3 separate regions of the Homo sapiens genome follow, and regions 1 and 2 are each linked to region 3. Evidence: promoter capture Hi-C in human tissues and cell types (Jung and others, 2019). All regions are on one chromosome and are shown on one strand. The core of a region is centred on a gene start or on the middle of the fragment in contact, and the rest is flanking DNA. Distances in the headings are between cores, read along the strand shown.

Region 1 (3,471 bases), core at 960-3,459, 460 kb after region 3:
GAGCTCTCAGCTCTGTCCACGACAGAGAGCTTCATGTAGTCGTTTCCAGGTGAATTGGTCAAAACTGGGATTATATTCCGACTGCAAGCATAGGCAAGTTCAGGGATCTATCTGTTCTCTCCAAAGACAGAGGGAAGTGGGAGGACCTCCTGAGGGGTGGTGGCAGCTTTCCTGCATCTACTGAAACCTACTTTGTCCTGCTGCCAGGTCTTTGCTGTTGGCCTCTGCCCTAGGTGCCTCCACTGCTGACACTTTCAGACCTGCCGTGACCCCCAACACTAAGACCACATAGGCTGTCCCGTGTACCCCTCATCCCAACACGCCCAGGGACAGTCTTGGCCACGTCTGTGCCTCTTTTGGGGACAGAGGAACTATGGATGTTCTAACTTACTGCCCTGGGCTCTTGGGAAACGCGAGGGCTGAGTGAGGTCCCTGCACATGCTGGTGCAGGCCGAGCACAGTGCAGTCTTTCTTCTTTCACTGGCACTGAGAAGAGGGGACCTATGTGTGGCTGCTGCTTCCCAGAGGTCTTTATGGGAAGCAGCCCCAGGTCTCTTCAACTCTCAATCTTCAAATGTCAAGGGGGTTCTATTGTTTCTCACTGACCCCAGGAGTTAGCCTGAGGGTTCGGGCCCCCACAGTGCCTCATCCTCAGCGTCTAACTCACTAAGGTATCTGCTCACAGTATAGCTTTTCTCTGTGCAGAGCTCTCCTCTCCCGGACCCCAAAGTATTTTGGCTCCTTGCTCATGCACCTGAGTACATCCTCCCTCTCTTGGCCACTGCCATGGCCCTTTAAGGGAGGTTTGGCTGCTCTCCTATGGCTCTGTTGGGCTGCAAGTATGTAATATGGACCCTTGCACCTTGCATAGAGTTCCAGGTGCTATATAGATGTCACAATGTCACTTCAAAGCTGATTACTTTTCTTTTTTTTTTTTTTGGTAGTAGCTAAGATTCTTTAATTTATAGTTGACCACATCCCTGCTCCCTATCTCACAGAACTGACGCCAAGGCCTCCATGAATTGTGTCACATGGGATTGCATTAGCTACTGCAACCAACAAATAAAAACAGCAACCACTTAAACAGATAGGTTTTTTTCGCACAGCAAGAATTCTGGGATCCAGGGTTATTAAGGTGGCTTAATGTTATCAGGGACATTCTGGCTCTTTCCACCTTTCATATCTGCTATCCTCAGCATCTAGGCCTTCTCCTCTTGTTTGTGACCTAGTGGTCTCAAAAAGGCTGCTTTGCCTCAAGACCTTAAAACTATATCCCAACTAGAAAGAATGAAGAAGGATAAGGAGGCTTTTTCTTTTAATTCAAGATTAGAAGATCCTTCCCCCTTACCTTCTAGCTATATCTCAGTGGCCAGAGTTATGTCACGAGCCCACACTTAGTTTCAAGAGGTGCTGGGAAAAAGTATATTGGATCCTTTCCATCCAGGGTAGAGGAAGACAAAGGAAAGGGGGTTTGTGAATGGATTTTGAACAGCCAATCTACAATATCTGCCAAAGGTCAGACAGAGGTCCTTAGACAGAGAGCAGTAAAGCTATTTCAAAAGATGGTATTAATCTATGATGTCATAGGATTACAATTTATTTAGCTTTTCTGAAAGTTCAAAAACTCTTGCTGATTCAGATCATTAATTTAGTGAGGAATTGGGTTGGTGGAATATTAGGGTATCTTTCATGAACAAAGGAATTTCTAAATTAATGACTAGTGGAAACAAGATGGGTGGTAGGAATCATATATCACCATCTTAGGAAACAAACTTTTTAAGCATTTTCAAAGGAATCTCATGAAAACAATTGATGAATCATATAATCTTAAATTATTTTTTTCTTTTGGGTAAGGCTGAATTACCCCCTACTTGCCAAAACATGCTGGAAATGTTTTATTGGCTTAATTTTGATTCCTTTATATATATGAAAGTAATAAAGCTGCATTTCTTTAAATATATTTCCTAACTTAGAGCTTTCATAAATTCACACTGGCTTTTATTTCTAGTCTTAATAAATTAGATTCTACCGCATATTGAATATACCCTGTTAAGTATATTGAAACAGTACGATGTTCACTGAAGGAGGAAGCTTAACATGGGAAAAATTAAAGAAATAAAGAGAGCATCAGGCAGGTGGTTGCATTACCCAAAGGTGAGCAAATTACAGCCCCTGGGCCAGATCTCACCTGCTATCTATTTTTCATAAATTTAAGTTTTACTGGAACACACCGACTCATTTCTCACATGTTGTCTATGTTGCTTTCATACTACAATGGCAGAATGAGCAGTTGTGGCAGAAATGGAATGACCTGAAAATTTGAAAATTATTTACTATTTGTCCCTTTGCAGAAAAAGTTTGGTGATACCTGCATAACTAGTTATGGGGGATTCCGTGAAAGCTGAACACAGTGACTGGATCCCTCTTCTCTTCATGTGGAAATTACTTTAATGTTTAAGTAAAGTAACATAATAATTACTATTATTATTACTATAATAATGTATATATAATATATATATTATATATACTATATATTATATATATTATATATACTATATATACTATATATTATATATAATATATATACTATATATTATATATTATATATACTATAATAATATATATATTATATATTATATATTATATATACTATAATATATATATTATATATACTATAATAATATATATATTATATATTATATATACTATAATATATATTATATATACTATAATAATATATATAATATATATTATATATACTATAATAATATATATATTATATATTATATATACTATAATAATATATATATTATATATTATATATACTATAATAATATATATAATATAGTAATAATTATTATTACTATAATAATTACTAATTACTATTAATATTTACTATTAGTAAAATATATAAAGTAAAATGTAGCAGTAGTGTGTTCAGGACTCCTGGGTATGAGCCATTGGGACTGTCTTAGTCTTGCCGCTATAACAAAGTATCACAGACTGGGTGGTTGATAAACAACAGAAATTTATTTTTCACAGTCCTGGAGGCTGGGAAGTCCGATATCAAGGCACCAGCAGATTCATTGTCAGGTGAGGGCCCATTTTCTGGTTCATAGATGGCACCTTCTCATTGTGTCTTCATCTGGTGGAAGGAGCGCATGAGCTCCCTTGGGCCTCTTTTGTGAGGACATTAATTTCATTCATGAGGGCTCCACCCTCATGACCTAGTTATTATACCTCCCAAATGCCCCACCTGTTAATATCATCACACTGGGAATTAGGTTTCAGCATATGAATTTTAGGAGGACACACACATTCAGACCATAGGAGGGGTATTAATTTTCATATCAAAACAATGGGTTCTGTTTCTGTCTTCAGCTTTAGCCTGTCATGAAAGATGGTCTCACCATATTGTATTTCATTCTAGCACTGAGTCTGCTGCTGACACAATGACAGGGGCCCTGAGTC
Region 2 (3,169 bases), core at 421-2,920, 340 kb before region 3:
TTTGTTATAGCAGTAGCTTAAGGTGAGCTGTATTAGCATTTTCAGGGTTTAAACCCCTAAAATCTCAGGTAGGTATATATTATTTTCTTGAGAACCTACAAAAAAGTCTCATTTCAGTAATTTCAGAGCAGTGTAGAACTTATCCAATGTAGGAATTGGTCATTCAGTCTAAAATAATGGCTGGGCGCGATTGCTCACACCTGTAATCCCAGGACTTTGGGAGGCTGAGGTGGGCAGATCACTTGAGGTCAGGAATTTGAGACCAGCCTGGCCAACATGGCGAAACCCTGTCTCTACTAAAAATACAAAAAGTAGCCAGGTGTGGTGGCACACACCTGTAGTCCCAGCTACTGGGGATGCTGAGGCAGGAGAATCGATTGAACCTGGGAGGCAGAGGTTGCAGTGAGCCGAGATTGCGCCACTGCAGTCCACCCTGGGCGACAGAGCAAGACTCTGTCTCAAAAAAGTAAAATAAAATAGAATAAAATAGAATAGAATAAAATAAAATAAAAAAAAATAAAATAACAATAAGTATAGTTTTTGAGTGGCTGCTTTTTGCCAGTTGCTGTAGTAGGCACTGTAAGTCTAATAATAGTATACATTTACTGAGTTCTCGCTGTGTGCCAGGTGCTGCTTTTTTCATATTAATCTAATCTTCATAACAAGCCTGAGGAAAATCCTGTTATTCTTGTTTTACAAATCAGATAAGGATAAGTAGGATATCATGAAGTTGAGTAACTTGTTTAGAGTCAGAGGTTATAAGTAAGAGTTTATGATATAGTCTAGCACCAGAGATGTACTCTTAACATCAAATACTATACCTCCTATCTTCTTTAATTTTCACAGTAAGCCTATGAGGTAAGTATATAGAAAAGGAAACAGGCTTAGAGAGAATGTGTAACTTTCTCATGGTCTCTTGTTTCTGATCCCCATGAACCATACCATCAAACTCTTGCACTTAAGAAAATAGTCCTGTCTTTCTACAACTTCATCTTATAACTCTTACTGCTTTTTGTCTTATCTCCCAGGGCCATTTCTGAGCAGTGGAGGTTTCAAGTAATCCACTAACAACCAGTTCCAAATTCTGTCATCAAATCCTGTGCTGCTGTTCCTCGTGGTAAGTTTTCTTATGGACATAGTAAAACTTTAATATATTCTACTTCATAAATATCTTCATCTGTAGAAGGAACAAAGTATACTTTTGTGAACACATGATTGATTGGGCTTTACTGTTTTGCTACTGCTTTATCATACTGAGAAAATCAGAAGTTAAATATTTATATATTTGCCTGGCCAGACTTTTGAAAATATTTAGCCCAACAAATAAGATGCTTTACATCTATCAGCTCAGAGTCTGCTGTTATTTGTTATAATTTTATCTTTAGACCACATATTCAAGTACTAAATGGACAGACACAGTGGTATGTTTTAATAGAGTTAAATTAGAACTATTGCACATACATAAAGAACATTAGTGAACATTGTTTCTTAACTAAATTTTAAATGATTAGAATGTGATTATTAGATCAATTATAATATATTATACAGTAGTCTCCCTTTCTCCGTGGTTTTGCTTTCTGTGGTTTCAGTTATCTGCAGTCAACCAAGGTCTGAAAATATTTAGCAGAAAATTCCAGAAATAATTCATAAGTTTTAAATTTAGTGCTGTTCCGAATAGTGTGATGAAATCATACCCTGGACTTGGATCATCCCTTTGTCCAGCATATCTATGCTGTTTATGCTACCCACCCTTTAGTCACTTAGTAGCTGGTTGGTCATCGGATTTAAAAAAATAATATATATTAAGTTTGATAATATTTAGAGTTTCAGACATCCACTGGGGGTATTGGAGCATATTCCCCATAGATAAGGGAGGCTAATGTAACTACTGTTTACTGAATATCCTTTATAGGTCTGACATTATGCTTTACAAATATAATTCATGTGATCCTGTTAACAATCCTATAAGATAGATGGTAGTGTTGACATTTTATAGATGAAAAAACTGGTTACAGAAGTTGAGAATTTTATATTAGGTCACATATCTTGTAACTTGACAGAGCCAGCTTTCAAACCTAGGTATAGCTGTCTCAAACCTTTTGATTTTCTCATTTTACCATCTGATTATGTGTAGTGTTTCAATTTCGACCATGTAAGATGCTGAAGAGTGAAAAATCTAAAGGGTGTGCCTGTCTGTGCATTGTAGAGAATTACAGAAGCTGTATTCAAATATACTGAATTATCTAAATTTTTTTGTTTTTTGTTTTCAGGTAATAGATGCATATTATTTCTTTTATTTAAAAGAAATGAATGTGACTAGTATTGCATTAAGAGCTGAAACTTGGCTTTTAGCTGCATGGCATGTTAAAGTACCTCCGATGTGGCTGGAAGCTTGTATTAACTGGATTCAAGAAGAAAATAATAATGTTAACTTGAGTCAGGCCCAAATGAATAAACAAGTGTTTGAGCAGTGGCTCCTTACTGATCTGAGGGATTTGGAGCATCCTCTTTTACCCGATGGCATTTTAGAAATTCCAAAAGGAGAATTAAATGGATTTTATGCTCTGCAGATTAATTCCTTGGTTGATGTAAGTCAGCCTGCATACTCCCAGATACAGAAGTTGAGAGGAAAGAATACAACAAATGATCTAGTTACAGCTGAAGCACAAGTAACCCCAAAACCTTGGGAAGCAAAGCCTTCACGAATGTTGATGCTGCAGCTAACTGATGGAATCGTACAAATACAGGGAATGGAATATCAGCCTATTCCAATTCTTCATAGTGATCTTCCTCCAGGTACAAAAATTTTGATTTATGGAAATATATCTTTCCGTCTTGGTGTTCTCTTATTGAAACCAGAAAACGTGAAAGTGTTAGGAGGTGAAGTAGATGCTCTTTTAGAAGAATATGCCCAAGAAAAAGTACTTGCAAGATTAATAGGGGAACCTGATCTTGTAGTTTCAGTCATACCAAACAATTCTAACGAAAACATTCCCAGAGTTACAGATGTTCTAGATCCTGCATTAGGTCCTTCTGATGAAGAACTCTTGGCAAGTCTTGATGAAAATGATGAGCTTACAGCAAATAATGACACTTCCTCAGAACGATGTTTCACCACAGGTAGTTCCTCAAATACCATTCCCACAAGACAGTCAAGTTTTGAGCCAGA
Region 3 (3,124 bases), core at 143-2,642:
CGGCCTCCCGAGTAGCTGGGACTACAGGCATGTACCACCATGCCCGGCTGATTTTTGTATTTTTAGTAGAGATGGGGTTTCACTATGTTGGCCAGGCTGGTCTCAAATTCCTGACCTCAAATGATCAGCCCGCCTCAGCCTCCCAAAGTGCTAGGATTACAGGCATGAGGCACCACTGCCAGCCACATGTGAGATTTTAAATATGAATAAAATTTGCGTGCCTTTTCTCCTGCTAATCTGTTTTATGTTGGTTTAATTTGCAGGCCTCAGGCACTCAACCTAAGAGGGTAGATGAAGTTGTTTCCTCTCCTACACTTGTGACCTATAAGTGGTAACCCGATGCCTACTCATGGAGATGGGCATCACTGTGACCATGGGACAGATGATCAAACTTGGGCTCTGGGAAGTTACAGGAATTTGTGGGTGCTGGAGTCTGAACTCCTGTCAAAGCCCTTTTACCTCCCTCTTTCCTTTCTTGGCTAGCACCTCAAAGTTTTGTTTTGCCCATCTAGCAGACCGTAAAGTCCAAGGGATTGTTGACACTTGCCGGTGCAGGCTTCCCATCTTCTCCAGAGCGCCCATGCTGAGTGTCAGCTAAGGAAAGGAAGCACACCTAAAAACAGCCCTGGAAATCCCCATCCCAGACCCAGTCAAAATAGCCTGGTGTTTCTGACAGGTCTCCTTCTATGTCTCTGCGGGCACCCAGCCTCGGGCTGAGCAGCATTAATCACTCAGTGAGTTTTGGTTGATGAAGTGAGACTGATTTGCGTAATCCAGCTGCTCTGGGGCAGGTACCGGGGCCATCTGACAGGGGCTCCAGGACTTGGCTTGAGTAAAAGGAACCCTGAGACACTACCCCAGCCAGGATCTAAATTCCCCCATTTTTCCCTTCTCACCAGTTCTTTGGAAAAGTGCCTGAAGATAAATAATGGACCCCTGCTGTGAGCCAGAAGGGAAAAAAGGCAAGAGAAGAAGGCTGTCTTGTTTCTAAGTGACCATAGGGATCACAACACATCGATTAAAAGAGACTTTTCAGGTTTGTCAACCCAGAAGAGCCCAAGAAGAAAAAATAATGGGCTTAAAGTGTGCCGTTAAAAATCGTATTGTCCTGATAATCTCCCTGCTTAGGTAAGAAACTTGCCAAGGGGCTAAGGAAAGGGCAGCTTTTCCACTGAAGGCCTTTAACATAAGAGGAAAGCTCTGCTCACCTGGAAGCCCACGTTGCTGTAGCCCTCAGCTCTGGGGGCTGCTGTACTCCTCAGCTCCATGCTCTTTTTGCTGCTGGCTGGCTCTGGTCTGGAGGTCCTTTGTACCTGGGAAAAAGCACCAGTCTCTGCTGATGTCAGAAAGCCACCTGCTGTTACAGGGACCTGGGCACAGCTTGCTTCAGTTTGGAAACTTCTGCAATAATCTCCTGAATGACTAGGGCTGACACCTGGTTGGGGTGGGGCAGAGAGGCGGGCGGGTTGGCGGGGTGGAGGCATCTAGTGCTGGCCCGCCCACCTTATTAATCTTTTCCTTTATCCCCATTTTTGGCATCCTATTTGCACTCCTGGGGAGAAAACTCTTGTGGTGCACAAAACAGAAAAGGACACTTTCTTTTTCTTTCTTTCTTTCTTTTTTTTTTTGAGATGGAGTCTCAAAAAAAAAAAGGCTGGAGTGCAGTGACGCAATCTCGGTTCACTGCAACCTCTGCCTCCCAGGTTCAAGCAATTCTCCTGCCTCAGCCTCTCAAGTAGCTGGGATTACAGGTGCATGCCACCACACCTGGCTGACTTTATTTTTAGTAGAGACGGGGTTTCACCATGTTGGCCAGGCTGTTCTTGAACTCCTGACCTCAAGTGATCCACCTGCCTTGGCCTCCTAAATTGCTGGGATTACAGGCATGAGCCACCGTGCCCAGCCAGAAAAGGACACGTTCTCTATAGTGCTTAGTGAAATCCTCTGTTTTCCTGTGGGTGGTGTTAAAGACTAGGAGTGGTGGTGGGGTGGAGGGTGAGTGAACACAGGATATAAGGTCATGCCGCCCTCAGTGATCACCTACTGTATACCAGGGATGGATAGATGGATAGATACATAGACAGATAGGTAGGTAGGTAAGGGTCTTGGCTCTTCTTCCGAACAACTCAAAATTCTATACTGAAGTACAGAAAAGTTAACAATTTGTTTAGTGTCATTTAGCTAATAAAGGGATAATGAGAATTCAAATTCAAGTTTGGTTAATTCCAAAACCTTTTATTACATCCCTGCTTCAGACTGGGCTGCTTTCAAAAATCCAGCTTACAGAAATGCCGATATGTGACAAGTAAATGAAAGGTGACCAGCTATTCAATTATCAAAAGTGAATAGAAGTGCTTTGTTTTCATAAAGCAATTCACTTTGCTTTATGAAAATATTAGCTGTAGAATTCTTTTAAAATAGGGATTTTCCCCCCTAGTACAATTTAAAATACTGCAAAACTGTGGACAAAAGAATGGAAAAGGCCTGGTGCGGTGGCTCACGCCTGTAATCCCAGCACTTTGGGAGCCCAAGGCGGGTGGATCACTTTAGGCCAGGAGTTCAAGACCAGCCTGGCCAACATGGCGAAACTCCATCTCTACTAAAAATACAAAAATTAGCCAGGAGTGATAACGTGCGCCTGTAGTCCCAGCTACTCGGGAGGCTGAGGCGGGAGAATCGCTTGAACCCAGGAGACACAGATTGCAGTGAGCCGAAAACGCACCGCTGCCTCCCATCTGGATGACAGAGTGAGACCCTGTCTCAAAAAAAAAAAAAAAAAGAAAAGAAAAAGAAAAAGAAAAAGTAAGAAAATACCAAGTATTATGAGTGGTTATTTCTCGGTTTTTAATTTTATGGGCAGTTGGTGTTTTTTTTTTCTCCTTCAAATGCTGCTGAGTTTTCTATAAAGAGAATGATTTACTTTTATTATTGTTAACCTAAAGGAAAAAACGGAGACAAACTTAATGTAAGTATAGAGTTTATTTGGTCTAAGTTTGAGATTGCAACTTGGGAGCACATATTCAAGTTGCTCTGAATATACACTTAGTAGCAGTTACAAGTAGATTCTTGTGTGTGTGTGTGTGTGTTCTGTTGCCCAGGCTGGAGTGCATGATCATGGCTTGCT

What was found. The method cuts DNA at HindIII sites, captures the fragments that hold promoters and counts their contacts. A contact is called where the count stands out against the background at its distance.
Region 1: a fragment that was not itself captured here is called in contact with the fragment with the promoter of SLC28A3 in region 3 in 2 of the 25 tissues and cell types used here (dorsolateral prefrontal cortex and lymphoblastoid cells).
Region 2: a fragment that was not itself captured here is called in contact with the fragment with the promoter of SLC28A3 in region 3 in 2 of the 25 tissues and cell types used here (aorta and stomach).

Annotation. Positions count from the first base shown.
Region 1 is chr9:84,795,034-84,798,504 of GRCh38, forward strand. The region is part of intron 12 of NTRK2 (neurotrophic receptor tyrosine kinase 2); the gene reads left to right. Among named protein-coding and RNA genes, the nearest start is that of NTRK2, 130 kb to the left of the region's middle. The HindIII fragment of the contact is 5,426 bases long and covers 1-3,471 here.
Region 2 is chr9:83,998,681-84,001,849 of GRCh38, forward strand. RMI1 (RecQ mediated genome instability 1) reads left to right here. Exons shown (of 3, transcript NM_001358291.2): 2 at 1,029-1,117; 3 at 2,271-3,169. The coding sequence starts at 2,307. Among named protein-coding and RNA genes, the nearest start is that of RMI1, 19 kb to the left of the region's middle. The HindIII fragment of the contact is 5,241 bases long and covers 1-3,169 here.
Region 3 is chr9:84,339,366-84,342,489 of GRCh38, forward strand. SLC28A3 (solute carrier family 28 member 3) reads right to left here and starts at 1,393. Exons shown (of 18, transcript NM_001199633.2): 1 at 1,209-1,393. The coding sequence starts at 1,268. The HindIII fragment of the contact is 14,043 bases long and covers 1-3,124 here.